Linked DNA regions of Homo sapiens: region 2 is linked to region 1. Evidence: promoter capture Hi-C in 16 types of primary human blood cells and fetal thymus (Javierre and others, 2016). All regions are on one chromosome and are shown on one strand. Each heading gives the region's core, a stretch centred on a gene start or on the middle of the fragment in contact. The rest is flanking DNA. Distances are from core to core; before and after follow the strand shown.

Region 1 (5,465 bases), core at 1,208-3,707:
TTTCATTAAAGTGGAAGTAAACCTGATTAATCCTTTACCCAATATCAGACAATATCCTCTAAGGCCTGAAGCAAATGAAGGAATAAGATCCGTAACAAAAGACTATATTAAAAGGGGTCTAATTATTCCTTGCGCCAGCATGTAATACTCCAATCCTTCTTGTAAGGAAGCCGAATGGGAAGAGCTGGTATTCTGTACAAGATTTGAGAACCGTCATCAACACTGTGATCCCCAGACATCTGGTAGTACCAAAGCCCCATCCTCTTTCGGCAGCTGGAAGTGAGACACTGTGACTCATTTATGTAGTGCCTTCTTTAGTATTCCAGTGGACCTAGAGTCAGTATTTGTTTGCTTTTACTTGGGATGACTGCGAGCATATCTGGCCTATCAGGAAATATTGCTGATGAAACTGCTGCCTCCATCACAGCCCAACAAAAAGCTACTGACTCACTGGCTAAGGCTGCACTGGACGACTGCATTGCTTTCGATTATTAGCTGAGCAAGCAAGTCTATGTATGGTGGCAAATACCTCTTGATGTGCATAAACCCTTTCCACGAAGTAGAAACTCATATGGGAAAAAGTACAAGCCACTAGGCTACACTATTCTGAACAATTCTCCATTTGATTTTCTTCGTAATACTTTTAGTTGACTCCCTCGAATAGGTTCCGTTTTTCATTCTGGCATACACATTCTCTTTTTCATTGTAATCCTTATGTGCACCGTACTTGGTAACATTTTTGTTTTAATAGAGATGGAGTCTTTCTGTGTTGCCAGGTTGGTCTTGAACTATCAGGCTCAAGTGACCCTCCTGCCTTGGGCTCCCCAAATGCTGGGATTACACACAAGAACCACTGCCTGGCCAGCACTACAGTTCTACTATCGAAATTATTAATGCTATGCTATGTATCTCTGGCGGTTTTTTTTTTTTTTTTTTTGAGACAGGGTCTCACACTGTTGCCCAGGCTGGAGGGTAGTGGCCTGATCATGGCTCACTGTAGCCCCTACCTCCTGGGCTCAAGGAATCCTCCCACAGCAGGTGCCACCATACCCAGCTAAGTTTTTTGTATTTTTTTAGGGGAGAGAAAGCGTTTCGCCATATTGCCCAGACTGGTCTCCAACTCCTGGGCTCCAGCGATCCTCCTGCCTCGGCCTCCCAAAGTGCTGAGATGAAAGACATGCGCCCCACACTGGCCTCTGGATGTTTGTTACTCCTGAGAAAACTAAAATCATGGCACTCCAAAGACTAGAGACGATTCAACAGGCAAGAGCAGGGATGAAATGCACGCAGCGACTGAGGTCTGGCTTCGCGGCTCTGTGACCCCGGTTCAGCTTCTGAGCGCCTGGTTCCTTGGCGGGACGCCTCCTCCTTTCCCGCAAGACCAGACACGACTGTCTGGGAAGCAGCGTTTCTGGGGCGCACCTTGACACTTGGATTTGGATCAACAATGCTTTCAAGAAGAAAGACTTTTGATCAAAAGCGGGAAATGAGAAAGCGACTTTCCTCTGAAAAGTGCCTCCCAGTCCCGAGGCTGCGAGGCCCCCACGCCAGGCTGGCTCCCACGGAAGCCGGGCACCCACCCGGCCCGACCAAGCGCCACTCCGCCCCGTGGACGGGGCGTCCCACCCCGGGGACGCCCGCCCCACACCGCGTTTGCACCCCGGAGGCCCCTTGCCGCAGAGGCGGACGGCGCGCCTCTCCCGGGCCCCTGGGGTCCGCGCCTCCCTCGGGCAGACTCTTTCGACTCTGCTCGAGCCTCCGCTTCTTCCTGCGGGCGGACGCCCCGGACACAACGGGCCCCGCTGTTCACGCAGGGGCGCCCCGGCGGGGCGGGCAAAGACCCGGGGACGCGGTCCCGTCCCGAGACGCTCAGCTCCGGCCCACCGCTCGCAGCTCCCGCCCCGGGCGCAGGTCCCGACCCCACGGGCCGTCTCGGAGCCGCAGCGGCCGCTTCCCTGCACGTCCTCACGCCCCCCGCACGGACGCCGCCAGCCCCGCGCCTCAGTTTCCCCACTAGCAGGATGGAAAGACGGGCCCCGCCCCGAAGCGTAGCGGCGTCTCCGTGGTAGCCAGTGCCCAGAGAGTCCGCCGGTCCCACCGCCCCTTCAAAGGAGAACCCGGCCCACCGCCCGCCGCGGCGGCGACCGCGCAGCCCACTCGTCACGCGGCCCGCGGCGTCCAGCCCGGGCCGGCTCACCTCAGGCGGTCGCTGCCGCCCTCGCGCCTGCGCGCCCCTCGCCCCGCCCCTCTCCCCGCCCGCGTCCCGCGCACCGCAGGCCTCTGCCCCTCGCCCACCGCAGGACCCGCCCCGCGCACGCGCCGCACGTGCCACACGCACCCCACGCCCCTGCGCACGCGCAGGCCCCAAGTCGCGGCCAATGGGCGACGCGGCCGCAGATCCGCCCGGCCCCGCCCTGCCCTGTGAGTTCCTCCGGCCGGGCTGCGGGGCTCCGCTCAGTCCGGGAGCGCAGCTGGGCCGCGGCGCTCCGACCTCCGCTTTCCCACCGCCCGCAGCTGAAGCACATCCCGCAGCCCGGCGCGGACTCCGATCGCCGCAGTTGCCCTCTGGCGCCATGTCGCAGAACGGAGCGCCCGGGATGCAGGAGGAGAGCCTGCAGGGTGAGGCGGAGGAGGCGGCGCGGGAGCCGAGGGGGCGCGGGGGGGAAGCCTGGGGAAGGCCAAGAGGGCGCCAAGGGGAGGTTGCCGGGGAGGCCTAGGGGGCATCGCGGGCCGGGCGAGGCTGCGCCATCCTCCCCTTCCGTACCCACCCCTCCTGCGGGCATGCGGAGCCCGGGGCGTGGGGACCCCGCGTACTGCCCGGGGTTCGCGGCCTCGCCACTCGGGCGGGGGTTGGCTTGGACCCGGGTCGGACCGCACGGGAAAGCCCCGATTCTCCAGCTCCGCGCGAGCTAGAATTCCACCTGGAGGTGAATCTGCGTCTCGCAGTTGGACCGAACAGCCTCAAAGTCCACGTTGCCCTCCGCGGTCTGTAGTTCAGACCAGTATTGGTTTTAATGACCAAACACCAAGGCGTGGCAAGTGGCCTGTTATGAGCTTTAATTTTGTTATTAATGTTTATATCCATGGTGACTGTTAGGATTTCCTCAAGGGTGAACGCGGAGATGGGAGGGGGTTACAGCGTTTTTAAAATATGGCATTAAATGGGCATGTTCCAATTTCACTAGAGGGTCGTTCCAAAACAAAGCTTTAAATGACTTACGGGTTAAGAAAACACAAGCAAAAGGACGCTGCCCGTGCAGCACTCAGTCGTTACAGCCTGCCTAATGCCCGAGTAGAGGCTCGCTGTGTGCCCTTGGCTAGATTCGCAAGACCATCCGTTCACGCAGCGGGAAACGCAGGCCCGGGGTGCAGGACTTGCCCCACGCACAGCCGGGTGGCGTGGAGACCCACCCCACCCGGTGGGTCCGCGTCAGAGTCCAGACGAGCCTTTGCTCAGGGAAGCGGGCACTGAAGCCGCCTTCCCAGGGTCCCTAGGGCCAAAGCCTCGGAGGAGGGACCTGGTGGCAGCTGACCTTTGTGTTCTTTGAAGCCAGAGTTTACTAAGCAAAATTAGCATGTAAATAAGCTTGGGAAAGGACTGCTGAAACCTCTGACAGTGAACTTTTAATCTTCATTGAGAGTTTTTAAAACCATATATTCACATAAATTTAGTGAGTTGCTAATTTTATTACAAAAAAAAAGATTTTACTAGGCAGGACTTAGTTACCGTAATATATTGAATAATATATATATATACATATGAACACTACAAGCTTTTTTTTTTTACCTTTTTTTTTTTTTAAGAGACGGGGTCTCACTGTGTTGCCCAGGCTGGTCTGAACTGGGCTCAAGCGATCCTCCCGCCTCGGCCTCCCAAAGTGCTGGGATTATAGGCCTGAGCCACCAGGCGCGCCTGGCCTAAAACCATATTCTTTAAAATCCTGTAATTCGGATTTTTCCTCTTGAAATTTAAACATTGGCTAATTACTATTTTGAAATAGATTAAGAGGTGTTTTCCTATCTTTTGTCATAAAATAAAGTCCAAGGGATGTTTTTATAAACTCTTTGCCATAAAATCACCCATTTTCCGGTTGTGAAGCCGCGTTACTCCTGACATTGTGCGTTTCACTGTCCGGCTGGGATCTGGGCGCTGGGAGGTGGAGGGGGCTCCGGGGGGCTCGGTCCTCTCTCCAATATGTAACTTACACAGGCTGCTGAGTCATTGGCAGTGCAAGGCGGCCAGCGCCGGAGTTACGAGATTTTTGTTTTTCTGTTTTGTTTATTCTATAAAAAGATAGTTACCCGCGGGGTGGATCCCATGTAGGCGATTCCTTGGGCCGCCCTGAGTGTCCGCGCGGCAGGACGGGGCCACTGTGGGCTCGGCGTGGGCGGGGTTGGCCGGTCCCGCGGGCTCCAGCTGCCTGCAAATCCGGGACGGAGCGGTGGCTCAGGCAGCGCTCACCTCTGCCTGTCCGATTTCACTGCCCCTTGTTGACCTCGGAACAGAGAACAATGGGAGCCTTGCAGCCAGACCCACGGATGGAAGCAGCAAGCACTCTCTCCTCTGAGTGTACCCTCTGGGGCCAACTGCTTTTCCTAAAGAGTTAATGGCAAAATGGGCTGATTCTGTTCCTTTCTATCTCTTGATCATTCTAGCTAAAGTTGTTGACTCGCAGGATGCTCGTATTTGTCCTTTTCCTTTTTTTTACAAGCCCAGTCTTACTCCCCCAGGCTGGAGTGCAGTAGCACAATCATTATAGCTCACTGTAGCCATGAACTTGGCCCTTTTCTCCTAGACATGTCACTGCTAACATGCAGGAGAGGTAGGATTCTGTGACGAGACCGTGTCACGGTGGCGGGGGCATCACTTCCTTGAAGGACCCACTGTCTTCACCAGGAGGGCATCAGTTCAGTAAAGTGCATGCCCATTTACTCTGGAGGGCCGTGTTTAATAATCCAAGCCCTCACCTCTTCACCCACTGCTGTGTCTGCAACTGGCAGATGGTTCTCTCTCTTGTCAGAGGCAACTCACCATGGGCAAAGTTGTATGAGGGGAAAAGATGTTTTCTACTTATTTTGGAGTGGAGTTGTAGCATTGTGTGCTTTGAGACCTGAAGGGGTTGCAGACATCGAGATTCTCGTCCAAGACTTGCATTTCATAGATGGTCACAATGAGGTTCTAGAGGTGGAGTGAAAGATAAGGCTGGCAACAACACTTAAGGAGAAGCCAAGGTCTCTGCATGAGGCAGCAGTGGGATACCTGGAGCCCAGATGCCTGAGGCTGCGTGCAATAGGCCCTGGAGGGTCCTGGAGGAGAGGAGGCCAGAGGTCCTGGAGGCAACAGGAAGGTGGAGGGAAACGAGCCCCGTTGGAAGCCAGGGACCTGATTTACCTACCCAGCTGACTTGATACTTGAAATCTTTTGTCAGGCGGGTCTCTTTTGTTCTCTCCCCACTAACCTGAGA
Region 2 (5,754 bases), core at 781-3,280, about 28 Mb after region 1:
CAGGCATTCTTGTGGCATTGCTGGATTTAGTGTCTATGGAATCTAAAAACTACATTTGGGGCCCTTAACGACATGGTAAAAACTGCTCCTGTCATCATATCTAATATTTTTCCTCCAGACTGTTGGGAAGATGAAAAGCCCACGTGTTACAGAAAATTGTTATCATTTATCAGCCAACCATATGGTCACCTTAGATGACAGAGCAGAGTCCCCACTGGCTAGTGTTCTCCAAAACTGTTGGGGGCATATTTTATTCCTTTAATCTTCTCCTTTTCCAGACTACTGCAGCACTAACTTAACAGAACATTTGTTGAGCATTTGACATCAGCTCCCAAAGGGTCTCCAGACAAACTCCCCTCGTGACACCTGAGGAGGCACCGAAGCTCAGGCAGATTTATTAGGAAGACTGAAAGGTCAGGCACCAGGTAGAAGCACTGAGGGAGCAGCCACAGCGGGTAAGCATTTTTACCAGGAGAAGGAGACAGCAGTGTCATAACTACCCAGTCGTCTTACCTGCCTTGAATTTTATTGGCTTAAAAGCAGCTGCTCTCTTCTCCCACACAGATTACTTTTGGGTATGACTGGTTAGGCTAGATCATTCAGTTGGTGCTTCTTGCCCAAGACACCAAGGTTGCAGTTTGATGTCCTACTCAGGACTGGTAAGGACGTGCACAAGTCAATCGGTGGACCAGATTGGTTAAAAAGCTTAAGTGGGTCAAGCGCGATGGCTCACTCCTGTAATACCAGCACTTTGGGAGGCTGAGGCAGGGAGATCACTTGAGGTCAGGAGTTTGAGACCAGCGTGGCCAACATGGTGAAATCCTGTCTCTACTACAAATACAAAAATTAGCCAGATGTGGTGGTGGGCCCCTGTAATCCCAGCTACTTGGGAGGCTGAGGCAGGAGAATCACTTGAACCCAGGAGGCGGAGGTTGCAGTGAGCCAAGATCGCACCACTGCACTCCAGCCTGGGCGACAGAGTGAGACTTGGTCTCAAAAAAAAAAAAAAAAAAAAGACTAAATGGCTCCATACAACCTATTCCCACTAATAATAAATAAATAAATGAGTGGGTAAATAAGTAGCCTGAACAATATAACAAGACCTGGTATCTAAACAAAAAAAAATTTTTTTAATGAGCTGGGCGTGGTGTTGCACACCTGTAGTCCTAGTTACTCAGGAGGCTGAGGAGGGAGGATCACTGGAGCCCAGGAGTTTGAGGTTACAGTGAGCTATGATTATGTCACTGCACTCCAGCCTAGGTGACAGAGCAAGACCCTGTCTCAAAAACAAACAAACAAAAGTAAATAAGTGAATGATATGGTGTGGATGCTTTGACCCCTCCAAATCTCATGTTGATACATGACTTCCAATGTTTCTACCTCAGGTGTTCGGGTCATGGGGGGTAGATCCCTCATGAATGGCTTGGTGCAGAGGTAATGAGTGAGTTCTCACTCTAACAGTTCACATGAGATCCGTTTGTTTAAAGGAGTCAGGCACATCCTTTCTCTCACTCTTGCTTCCTCTCTTGCCACGTGACACACCAGCTCACACTTCGCCTTCCACCATGGCTATAAGCTTCCTGAGGCCCTCACCAGAAGCAGTTGCTAGAACCATGTTTCCTGCACAGCCTGCAGAACCATGAGCCAAAACAAACCTCTCTCTTTTATAAATTACCCAGTCTCAGATATTCCTTTATAGCAATACAAGCAGATGAACACAGTGAATATATTTTAAAAATTTTAAAAACCAAAGCACAAAATACCTTTGATGATGGGCCAATGCTTTTATATCTACTATCCCCTGAAAGTCTCTATTTTCAAACACCTCTAGACTTTACAAATGCTGATCCCTTTTCTGGAAAATCCAATGACTCCTTATTTGTCCAGTTAGCTCTTTCAAGTGGCAGCTCAGTGTTGCCTCATCCAAAAAATCTTACCCAGTTAATTACCTCTCCTCTGTGCTGCTGGAAAGACTGAGCATCTTCTGTCAATTCACTGCATTATCATTGTGTGTTCACTTCTATGTCTCCCCACCAGACTGGGAGGACCAGTCTTTTCTTTAATACATCTATGGTGCTGCCCCATAGGAGACACTAGAAGTAAAAAGTTTGATGAATGAATGCAAGATACAATTAACTTATAAACTCACACACACAGCAATTACTCTTGGGAGTGATTAGTGACTAAAGGAAGGTGAAAGGTATCAGTACACGAACATTTAAGATTCTACAGTGGTTAAAATTACTTCCAAGTACACACCAAGATCCCAAACAGAAGTACAGGTAGTAAGGATTACAATAAAATGCACTTATCTCATTTTTTTCTTATCCTCAATGTAAATACCAAAGAACTATGTCTTTTTTTTCTTACCCACAAGGTGGGACACACAATCAGTACTCAAAAAAAGTTGACTACTGAACTCTCATAGGCAACAAGGATAGGCATCTATAAAATGAAATCTGCTATATTAAAGGAATAAGCTTTTTGTTTTTGTTTTTTTTTGAGACAGAGTCTCACTCTGTCGCCCAGGCTGGAGTGCAATGGCACAATCTCGGATCACTGTAACCTCCTCCTTGAGGGTTCAAGGCATTCTCCTGCCTCAGCCTCCCGAGTAGCTGGGCTATAGGCATGTGCCACCATGCCCGGCTAATTTTTGTATTTTTAGTAGAGACAGGGTTTGACTGTGTTAACCAGGTTGGTCTTAAACTCCTGACCTCAGGTGATCCACCCACCTTGGCCTCCCAAAGTGCTGGGATTACAGGCGTGAGCCACCATGCCTCTTTTCTGCCTGTTAGGTATGTTGCTTTCTTGCCAATACCTGCTGCAAGACCTACTGGATGATTTTAGTAGAAGCAAATGCCTGCTGAGCATTTACTGGGAACAGGTGCTTTTTGAGGCAATGCAAGGGAGGCAAAAAGCCTCAAACCTTTTTAAATTAAGCAGGACAATTTAAACCTCTAGGACAGCAGAGACCAGTCTAAGATACCATTGCATTTTAGAATCTAGCACCAAGGTTTGCAAACTTTTTCTATAAAAGACCACATTAAGAAATATTTTCTGGTAGAAAAAAAATAGAAGTATCCTGAGGACAGGTAGGAAAAAAAGAAATATTTTGGGCTTCACGGGCCACATGGTCTCTGTGGCAGCTACTCAACTGTGCTGTTAGAGCCCCAGAGCAGCCATAGACCACACATAAATGAATGGCCATGGCTGAGCCAATATAATTGTATTTATAGAAGCAGGTGGCACTCTGGATTGGGCCTGACAGCCATAGTTTGCCAACTCCTGATTTAGACAATGCCTGGCATAGATTAGGTGCTGAAATATTTGTTGAATGAATGGATGGATGAATGAATAAGTGAATTAAGGTATTCCTAAGGTTACAGCATAATGATCTGTGTCAAAGGCAAGGGTACCATCTTTAGACATTAACTACAAGGAGAGCAATGAATATCTACTGACCAGAAATAAGTTGGATGGCAATCATCTGACTGTTCTTTCCCAAGCCAAGTGGCATATGTAGATGGAAAATTAACATACATAAACCAATAACAGTTTTCAAAACAGAGATGTGAGTTAGAAGAGTAGTTTAAAGAAATATTTTCTAGCCAAGCATAGTGACCCACTCCTGTAATCCCAGCACTTTGGGAGGCCGAGGAAGGAGGATCACTTGAGCCCAGGAGTCTGAGACCAGCCTGGGCAACATACTGAGACCCTATCTCTGCAAAAAATAGGAAAATTAGCCAGGTATGGTGGCACACACTTGTAGTCCCAGCTACTCAGAGGGCTGAGGCAGGAGAATTGATTGACCCTGGGAGGTTGAGGCTGCAGTGAAGCCGACCGTCACTCCCGCCTGAGCAACAAAGTGAGACTCTAGCTCAAATTAAATAAATAAATAAGCATTTTCTTCAAACTTTGGATCTTGACTCATTTAATAAGTTGTGGCCTGCATTTTTTTCAAAAGAGGTTAACATAGGAAGAGTAAAAAGAAAAGGGAACATAACAGTTTGTATCACATTCAGTAAACATAACAATTGTTTTTAAGGAAACTGTCTTTCAATTATAATGCACTTGTATGTGTGAGTATACTGGGTTGTGAAATAAAATGTATTTTCAAAAATCTTTGAAAAACGTAGGTTCTGTAGAATCTAATGATTCCTACCACGTGAGTTGATATGAGGATTAAATGAGTTGGTAGGTATAAAATGCTTGAGTAATACCTAGCAGATGGCACAAGTTTTAGCTATTATTATTCAGTCACTAACCAGCAATGTGACCTTGAGTATGTGACCTAACTTCTCTGGACTTAATTTTTGTCAGTAAATAATCTCTAAAGGCCCTGTGGGCTCCGACATTCCCAGAGGAGGGACGTGACCAGCACTGACCTTGAGGAATGAAATAGCCAAATGCAAATCATTCGTCTTGTTCAACTGACACCTCTGAGGTCTCAGCAAAGCAGCCTGTTCTGTGAAACATCCTCTAAACTAACTTGCTATTATCTTGTGAAATTCCATGTGAAGTTGAAATCAGGGTAGTGGGAAATTGACCAAATCAAGGGAAGTGCCCTTTTTTCCCCTCCATCAGATGCTTAATGACTAGTATAGGCTTCCTGTCTCTCCCATTGTCATGCATTTTATTCCATATACTGGAATAACCACAGATGGGGTGAACAGGAAATCTGTCCCTGTGTATTTAATCTTTAAAAAATTTCCAGTGCTCCTAACCGTGAGATGTGGTGTGAAGCTCCCCTGCAGTTGGTTCAGACTTTGTCACAAGTCACTTTTTTTTTTTTTTTTTTTTTTTTGATACAGGGTCTCACTCCCTCACCCAGGCTGGAATGCAGTGGCACGATCTCGGGTCGCTGCAACCTCCACCTCCCAGGTTCAAGTGATTCTCGTGCCTCAGCCTCCAGAGTAGCTGGAATTACAGGCACGCACCACCACACCTGGCTAATTTTTGTATTTTTTTTTTTTTTTTTTTTTGTATAGACGGGGCTTCGCCATATTGGCCAGGTTGGTCTAAAACTGAACTCATGTGATCTGCCCACCTTGGCCTCCCAAAGTGCTGGGATTACGGACAGGAGCCACAGCACCCAGCTGACAAGTCACCTTTCACTATGGAATGTGAAGCCTCATCTAGCACTTAAATGATCATGAAGAACATTCCATCTACTTTCACACACACATGTATACACATAAACAAGCCAATAGAAAACTGGGGGATGTTGTAACAGAGTCTTCACACATAAACACATAAAGGTGGCCAATAACAATGTTCTGTTCAGCCTCACTCATAATTTAAAAACTGCAAATCAAAACATTGAGATTAGGGGTTTTTTTCACCTATAAAAGAAGCAAACTAAATTAAAGTTATAATAGAAAATAGCCAATGTTGGCAACAATGTAGAGAAAAAGGCAATCATCATACTATGGGAAATAGTTCAAATTGGTGAGATCTCTTTGGAGGGCAATTTTGTAATATATACCAAAATAGTAAATGCACATATCCTTTGATCAGCCCTGAAACTATCAAGGCACTGACCCAAAATAGCCACCTATATACAAGCTTCTGATGTGAGAAAAACAAATCCTTATTTGTTTAAGCCTTTTATAGTCTTAGACACTATAAAAATTACAGTCTGGTATTCCGTTACTTGCAGCCAAACATATTCCTAATTTATAATTTTTAAAAAGAATAGGGGTGAAGGAGGACATTCATATCTTGCACTGACTTTAGAAGATTTCTAGTATTTCC

What was found. The method cuts DNA at HindIII sites, captures the fragments that hold promoters and counts their contacts. A CHiCAGO score of 5 or more calls a contact.
Region 2: a fragment that was not itself captured here is called in contact with the fragment with the promoter of BNIP3 in region 1 in 1 of 17 cell types (activated CD4 T cells); the score reaches 5.6 in activated CD4 T cells.

Annotation. Positions count from the first base shown.
Region 1 is chr10:131,978,915-131,984,379 of GRCh38, reverse strand. It overlaps BNIP3 (BCL2 interacting protein 3), which reads left to right and starts at 2,457. Exons shown (of 6, transcript NM_004052.4): 1 at 2,457-2,619. The coding sequence starts at 2,574. RefSeq lists silencers at 1,787-1,906, 1,947-2,136, 2,187-2,486, 2,717-2,946 and an enhancer at 2,354-3,278. The HindIII fragment of the contact is 3,266 bases long and covers 1-3,207 here.
Region 2 is chr10:104,341,895-104,347,648 of GRCh38, reverse strand. It overlaps a transcript of CFAP58 not described here. Among named protein-coding and RNA genes, the nearest start is that of ITPRIP, 6.3 kb to the right of the region's middle. RefSeq lists a silencer at 1,440-1,499. The HindIII fragment of the contact is 904 bases long and covers 1,579-2,482 here.